2 separate regions of the Homo sapiens genome follow, and region 2 is linked to region 1. Evidence: promoter capture Hi-C in 16 types of primary human blood cells and fetal thymus (Javierre and others, 2016). All regions are on one chromosome and are shown on one strand. The core of a region is centred on a gene start or on the middle of the fragment in contact, and the rest is flanking DNA. Distances in the headings are between cores, read along the strand shown. Region 1 holds the start of R3HCC1L (R3H domain and coiled-coil containing 1 like). Region 2 has its middle 3.0 kb from the start of GHITM.

What was found. The method cuts DNA at HindIII sites, captures the fragments that hold promoters and counts their contacts. A CHiCAGO score of 5 or more calls a contact.
Region 2: a contact is called between a fragment that was not itself captured here and the fragment with the promoter of R3HCC1L in region 1, in 1 of 17 cell types (non-activated CD4 T cells). The highest score is 6.9, in non-activated CD4 T cells.

Annotation. Positions count from the first base shown.
Region 1 is chr10:98,132,999-98,136,639 of GRCh38, forward strand. R3HCC1L (R3H domain and coiled-coil containing 1 like) reads left to right here and starts at 1,659. Exons shown (of 10, transcript NM_001351015.2): 1 at 1,659-1,708. RefSeq lists enhancers at 2,086-2,875, 2,218-2,357. The HindIII fragment of the contact is 1,235 bases long and covers 1,239-2,473 here.
Region 2 is chr10:84,134,700-84,138,340 of GRCh38, forward strand. No RefSeq gene overlaps it. Among named protein-coding and RNA genes, the nearest start is that of GHITM, 3.0 kb to the right of the region's middle. The HindIII fragment of the contact is 2,338 bases long and covers 825-3,162 here.

The DNA of each region.
Region 1 (3,641 bases), core at 409-2,908:
CAGGAGCAGCTGAGTCATGAGTTAGGAGTCCTGAAGAAGGAACAGATTCAAGGAGTACTTGGGAGATAGTGAGAGAAGAAAGAGACCCTCTCATATTGTTTTATATTGTTTTATACTCAGTACCTGTTTTAAGAAAAAAAACAAGGAAGTGAAACCAAAGGCAGGCAGCCCAGCACCAGGCACCAGACCCAAAACCAGACCTGAAACCAGGCCTGGGCCTGCCTGGCCTAAACCTAGTAGTTAAAAATCAACTCATGACTTAGCATAGATTCCAGGCATTGTATGGAAGAACATTGTACTCTGTTCTGTTTCACTCTGACTACCACTGCATGAAGCCCCTGTCACATACACCCCAGATTGCTCAATCAATCACGACCCTTTCATGTGAAATCTTTAGTGTGGTGAGCCCTTAAAAGGGACAGAAATTGTGCACTCGGGGAGCTTGGATTTTAGGACAGTAGCTTGCCGATGCTCCCAGCTGAATAAAGCCCTTCGTTCTACAACTTGGTGTCTGAGAGGTTTTGTCTGCGGCTCGTCCTGCTACAATAGAATCTCCAAGATTTGGTGACCATTTGAATATTGGAGGAAGAGGAAGTGAGAAAGGAGGAATCAGGTTAAAGAGTGAATATTAATGAGTAGGGAGGAGGGGTAGTAGTTTACTTTTCTTTTTTTGGGGGACGGAGTCTCCCTGTGTTGCCCAGGCTGGAGTGCAGTGGTGCAATTTTGGCTTACTGCAACCTCCGCCTCCCGGGTTCAAGCGATTCTCCTTCAAGCAATTCTCCTGCCTCGGCCTCCTGGGTAGCTGGGATTACAGGTGCCCACCACCACGCACAGCTAATTTCTGTACTTTTAGTAGAGACAGGGTTTCACCATGTTGGTCAGGCTGGTCTCGAACTCCTGACCGCAGGTGATCCACCTGCCTTGGCCTCCCAAAGTGCTGGGATTACAGGCATGAGCCACTGTTCCTGGCCCCAGTAGTTCACTTTTCAAGGACACTGGAGATGCCTGTGGGCATGGATGAGGAGAGGTCTTGTCTAGGAAGTTGGGAATACAAACAATGAGCTCAGGTGAGAAGGGACTGGAGTGTCCCCTCTCCCACCCCAATTTTAAGAACTCTGGAAAACACCAATATTTTAGAGGTAAGTTAGAGGAAACAAAGTAGAATGAATTCAGAGAAGGAAAACCTGGATAGTGTCATAGAAAATAAGTGATAATGCCCAATAGCGTCAAATGACTAAAGCTTGAGTTAGATGAGTCCGGAAATACCTCCAATGAGTTTGGCAACAAGGACACTTATGACAACAAGGCATTTTCCATGGGGGCGGAAGCTGCGATGAGGAGTGAACACAGATGAGCAAGTAGAGACAGTGTAGATTATCTTTTTCAAAAAACTTGGCTGTGAACGGAGGAAGTGAGATGGTATAATTGAGTGGAATGTAAGGAGATTTGCGCACGTATATAGCCGAGAGGAATGAGGAAGGGTTGAAGGGACAGGAGCAGAAATGCTCTCCGGCACTCGCCATTTTGCCAGCTTCTCCCCTACGTGACCTGAACTCAGTGGGCGCGGCCGGGCCTCGCGGAAACTACAACCCCCAGAAGGCCCCACGGCGTTGGGGGCGGAGCCGAGGCCTGACGCGCGCCCCAGCGGCGCGAGCGGAAGAGATAGAGCTTCGCGGAGACGGCGGAAGCGGAGAGCAACAGCGCGCCGGTAACAACCAGCCCCGTATCCCCTCCCTCTGTACCTCAAGCTAGGATTTTTAATCCCCACTTCTCCCTTCACAGCCCGGGACAAGACTTCCATTCCGTCGTTTGTTGCTGGTATTTTTTTTCCTCATGTGACGCGAGGGGCCGCCCCCTGCCTGGGGCGGAGGTTACTGGGAAGCTCCCGCCTTCTGACCCCTGCGGGCCCGCGGTTGAGAGGGACCCTCCCGGGGCTCTTTTGCACTCACTGGGGCTCGTGCTCGCTTTGGGCGCTCGCCCCAAATGATCCTGGCGGAAAGGACGTGCTTTTTCTGGGTTTCAACAGGTATTGAGCGGGGTCCCTGGTTACCCCCTCGGGGCTGCGGGGCCGTGGGCCCCCAGGGCTGCCGGCGGTTTCCGGGCTTCGCTTCGAGCCTCGCCTTTGAGCCTCCTCCGCTGCCCGGGAGCCCCGGGCTACGGGCTGGGAGTGAGCAATCTATAAAGGAGCATGTACTTCCTGCTTTTTCTTGGCAGGCCTGCGAAAAACCCCAAGTCCGATCTTTAAAGTTTGTGAGTGCAGCCCCCTCTCAGTTGTGTACGGGAAGGAGCACAGGATTTGGAGTCTGATATCCTGGGGGAAGTCTCAGTCCGCCACTTGGCTGGACCTGTGATCTTTTGTACAGTAGTCTGTTTAGCGCAGCCTCGGTTTCGTTGTCTGAAAAGTGGGGTTAATGTTCTTTGCCCTGCGGCCTTCCAGGGTTGTGGGCTTCAGCAGAAGTGATATTCCTGCGAAAGCTTTGAACTCTAAAGTATGTTTCGGGTATAACCTTGCCATCCCCCAGTCTCCAGTCTAGGTCAGTTGAGTTTTAAAACCAGGTTCATGTCTATACGAAGATCAAATTAGTTAATAAATAGGGGGAAAGTGTCTTTGGAAACGAATCTGAACCATACAGATGTTTTTATGCCAGGTTCCTAGTGAAGAGGTGACCTTAGGGCGTTACCACCTGTGGAGTCAATTTAAAACTTCATCTGGATTTTAAGGCCCACCAGAATTTAGACTCTTCTTCCTCAGCACACACAACTATCTCTTGCTGTTATAACCTTCCTTCAGTATCACACAGGTACAAGCATAAAGCAGTAAACGTTCCTCAGATATGGTTGTACTACAACTAATACCTGTCCCCAGCAGGTCTTGTGTCTTGTGTCACAGTTGAAATTCAGAATATAAATAGCCAAATATCCCATCTGTTTAATTTTTTTTGACATTAAGCTTTGAGACTAAGCAAGTTGCTTATTGTCTTATTTTTCCCCTTACAGAGAATGCTAATTCTGCAATCAGTTTTTTTTTTTTTTTTGGGTAGAATCAGGATTTCACTATGTCGCCCAGATTGGTCTAACTCCTGGGCTCAAATGATCCTCCCGCCTCGACCTCCCAAAGTGTTGGTATTACAGGCGTTTGACACTGTGCCCACTGTGCCCGACCTCTGCGATTAATTTTTAAAGGGGTAAGAAAGTGTAGTTAGGTATTTTTAGTCTGTGTTTATTCTGAATTTATTGATTGAAGAATACTTGAAAATGGTCCAAAAAACAAGAGAGGATGACAGTAAGTTGCATTAGCTTAGTGTACAAATTCGAGCAAATTTGAGTTCAAGTCCTGGTGCTGTGTCTTACTACAGGTTGGAGTATCCTTATCTGAAATGCTTGGTACCAGAGTGTTTCAAATTTCAGATTTTGGTATATTTGCATATACATAGTTAGATATCTTTGGGATGGGACCCCAATCTAAACATGAAATTGATTTAGGTTTCATATATACCTTATATACATAGCCTAAAGGTAATTTTATATAGTATTTTTAATAATTTAATAATTTGTGTCCAGACGCGGTGCCTCACGCCTGTAATCCTAGCGCTTTGGGAGGCTGAGGCAGGCAGATTGCCTGAGCTCAGGAGTTCAAGACC
Region 2 (3,641 bases), core at 744-3,243, about 14 Mb before region 1:
CTCAGTCTTTCCTAGATCAGACAAGAGAAGACCTTCGGAGAATGCAGGACTTTATCAATGCAGACTTTTTCTACAAATGCTAATCTCTCCCACAAAAGACAGCTTTTTAGCTATTATTTTATTTCCAGCCTTTCTGAATAGTCATCTTGAACAATGTCAAGAAAATATATTTGGGGGTGAAATATTTTCATTTCCTTCAAGATCACAAAATCACCTCAAATAACAACTCACTGATAGAGTCATAGAGGGTAACACCAAAAATTTTTCTGATGAGCCTGATATCAGAGTGAATCACAGAAATCCTGTATTCTAGGCCAGTGCTCCTCAGCCTTTTTTTATTATTGCTTCCCTAGGAATTCATTTCAGATGCTTTTGCCTGATTCCCTCCCCCATGACATCTTAATGTCATAGCTTTACTAGCACATGTGCTGTCTGCATATCCATGCATTATATATTAAAAGAGAGATTTTTTTTAATCCCTCAAGCACCAGCTTTTGCCTCCATCGCATGTTCTAGACCCAGATCTACCATTTACCTTGCTATGTTTTTGATATAGTTTGTATATTTGTCCCCACCCAAATCTCATGTTGAACTATAATTCCCGTTATTGGAGGAGGGGCCTGGACAGAAGTGACTGGATCATGGGAGTGGATTTCTCTTGAATGGATTAGCACTATCCCCTTGGTGCTGTCCTTGAGATAGTGAGTTCTCAGGAGATCTGGTCATTTAAAAGTGTTTGGCCCTTCCCCGCCAACTCTCTCTCTCTTGCTCTTCCTTTTGCCATGTGATGTACCTGCCCCTCTTTGCCTTCTGCCATGATTGGAAGCTTCCTGAAGCCTCCCCAGAATCAGATGCCACTATGCTTCCTGTATAGCCTGCAGAATCATGGGCCAATTAAACCTCTTTTCTTATAAAATACCCAGCCTCGGGTATTTCTTTATAGCAGTGCAAGAACAACCTAATACCTTTTTCTTAAGAAAAGCTACTACAATTTCTGAGTGTTGGTTTCCTCTTGGAAGACTGACCAGAAAGCATGACACTAGTCTCAATTTTCTGCCAATATCTGTCCCTCCACAGATACTACCCCACTAATGACCTTGTCCTTTGGCCCACTTACAGCATTTAGTTGCACATATGTGAGGGGTATATATTGTCAGTTAGGTGAATGCAAAATTGAGCTACATTTTTCTTTAAACTGCCATCGATGTCATTTTCAAGGCCCCAGTCAGTTTAGAGCAGACAGCCTATTTATTCCATTTTGCAAGCTCAGAACAGTCTGACAATTTGTCTGTCAGTTTCAGGATTTATTACCATCAGTCACATTGGAGTTCAAAGTCCTTTCTCCTCTCCTGGGCCACAACTGGATTAGAAACATTTACATTAAACAGGAGGGGAAAAAGTGTAGCTTCTCTGTCCTTCCACTCTACCTCTTAGTCATTGCATTGTCATGCAGCTGCCGTTCAGCAAAATCTAAAGGGAGTAGTCCCCATGGCTTCATTGTCTTTCTGTGGCTGGCAGGATATAACTTTTGAAGTTGGCACAGTTTGATCTCTCACCCAAGCAGAGTCAAATGGCTCTGCCTTGTCATACACTAAATGGTCTGTTGGTGCCCATCTGGGCATCTCACCCACACATACTTCTAGTGTCGCCTCACTACTGAGCAGCATCTCGAAGGGTGCAAACAAGCAGGTGCGTGCTCACAATCACATTCTTGTGTTTATCTAGACCTTAGGGATTCCAAGGGAAAACAAGGCCAAGATGGGGAAGATCTTGTAACTTTCCTACCTGCTCTGTTGTCTGCCACTTAGCAACCACATGAGAAGCAGGTGCCAATTGGTCCCTACATTCAGAAACATCTGCAACCTTTCAGGAAGAAGCACCTTCCCTTTGTTGGGAGACTCCATCAGGGAGGGCAGAGGTTAAAGCCCCAGCAAACTCCCTTTCCAACTCTGTTTCATTCATACCACATCTTCTGATGGGAAAGCATAGTAGGGCAAGGTGAGAGCATTTATTTTAACTGAAAGTAAATAAAATATTTTATCTTTTGTCCTGGCTCTGAGTTTTCTCCACTATAATGCAGCATATCTCACTTAGCCAGCAAGTGGAGAATAAGGAATTCATCAGCAGACTGTAATAAAAACCGTGACATATATATAGTATTGGAATTTACGAATCATGTCTTTTCCTTTTTATTTACTTATTTATTCTTTTATTTTTTATTTTTTATTTTTTTGAAGTGGAGTCTCGCTCTGTTGCCCAGGCTGGAATGCAGTGGCACGATCTCGGCTCACTGCAAGCTCCACCTCCTGGGTTCATGCCATTCTCCTGCCTCAGCCTCCCGAGCAGCTGGGACTACAGGTGCCCACCGCCATGCTCTGCTAATTTTTTTTTTTTTTTTTTTTTTTTTTGGTATTTTTAGTAGAGACGGGGTTTCACCATGTTAGCCAGGATGGTCTCAATCTCCTGACCTTGTGATCTACCCGCCTCGGCCTCCCAAAGTGCTGGGATTACAGGCGTGAGCCACCACACACAGCCTACTTATTTATTTTTAAAGACAGCATCACCCTATGTTGCCCAGGCCGGCCTTAAGCTCCTGGGCTACCTCCCCAGTAACTGGGACTACATGCATGTGCCACCATTCCCGGCTTGTCCTTTTCTCTATCCTACACTCTAAGAACTTAGAAGCAGAGAACTTAACAATTAAACACTTCAAACTAAGTTTTATGTATCTACTTCCCCTCACTTGTATCTCTCCCTGTATCCTATTGCTAAATTAATGATAAAATTATCCACCCAGTTCAGAAGGATTACTCAGGGAGCCTTCCTCATTCTTATCAGCTATATTTGACCGACCATTCAATCCTGCAAACTCCACTTCAGCAATATATCTCTGTCATAAACCCCTCTGTGTCTTTCTACTGGCTTAATTCCAGCCTTTATTGCCTTTTGGTTGAACAACTACAATAAATTCCTAATTGGTCTCCTGGTCCATGGAACCTCTCCCTTCCTACACTGCCACAAGAGCATATATTTCCCAATGATATGACCAGATTCCTCCCCTGCTTCAAAATATTTGACCCCTGTGGAAACAACAATACAAGCCCTTTACTTGAGAAAGGAAAATATGAAATCAGACATTTTTCTTCCAATATGGAGAGAATAAGCTTTAATAGGAATCTTGAAGAAAGCTTGAGTCATTGACTTCAAGATCTTTATTCTGGTACTGTGTTGTAAATCCTTTCTCTTTGCTGATAACAGAAGCTCTAGAAAAAAAGACTATCACTGAAGGAGCCAAACAGAAAACCTATTTGCTAGCTAATAAAATTGGGCATAGATCAAAATAAAAATTAAACTGATCATGCTTGATCTGTTCAGTTTCGTGAGATTTCTCTAGTGTTTTCCTGCCATTTTCAGCGTAAAGAGATAAGAATTGTGTTGCTGCCAGACTCTTTTATTATCCACATAGAAGGCAAGTCTTTATATTTGTCAAGGTTTACATGATTAGGAATCATAAATCACAATTAACTACTGCTTAGGAGATAAAGGTTCATGAATTTTGCATGTTGTTAATCACCTTATCACCCTTTCAGGGTTTTAATCTGCTCTTTCTTCATGGTATTAAGTTATCACATTATATTTTT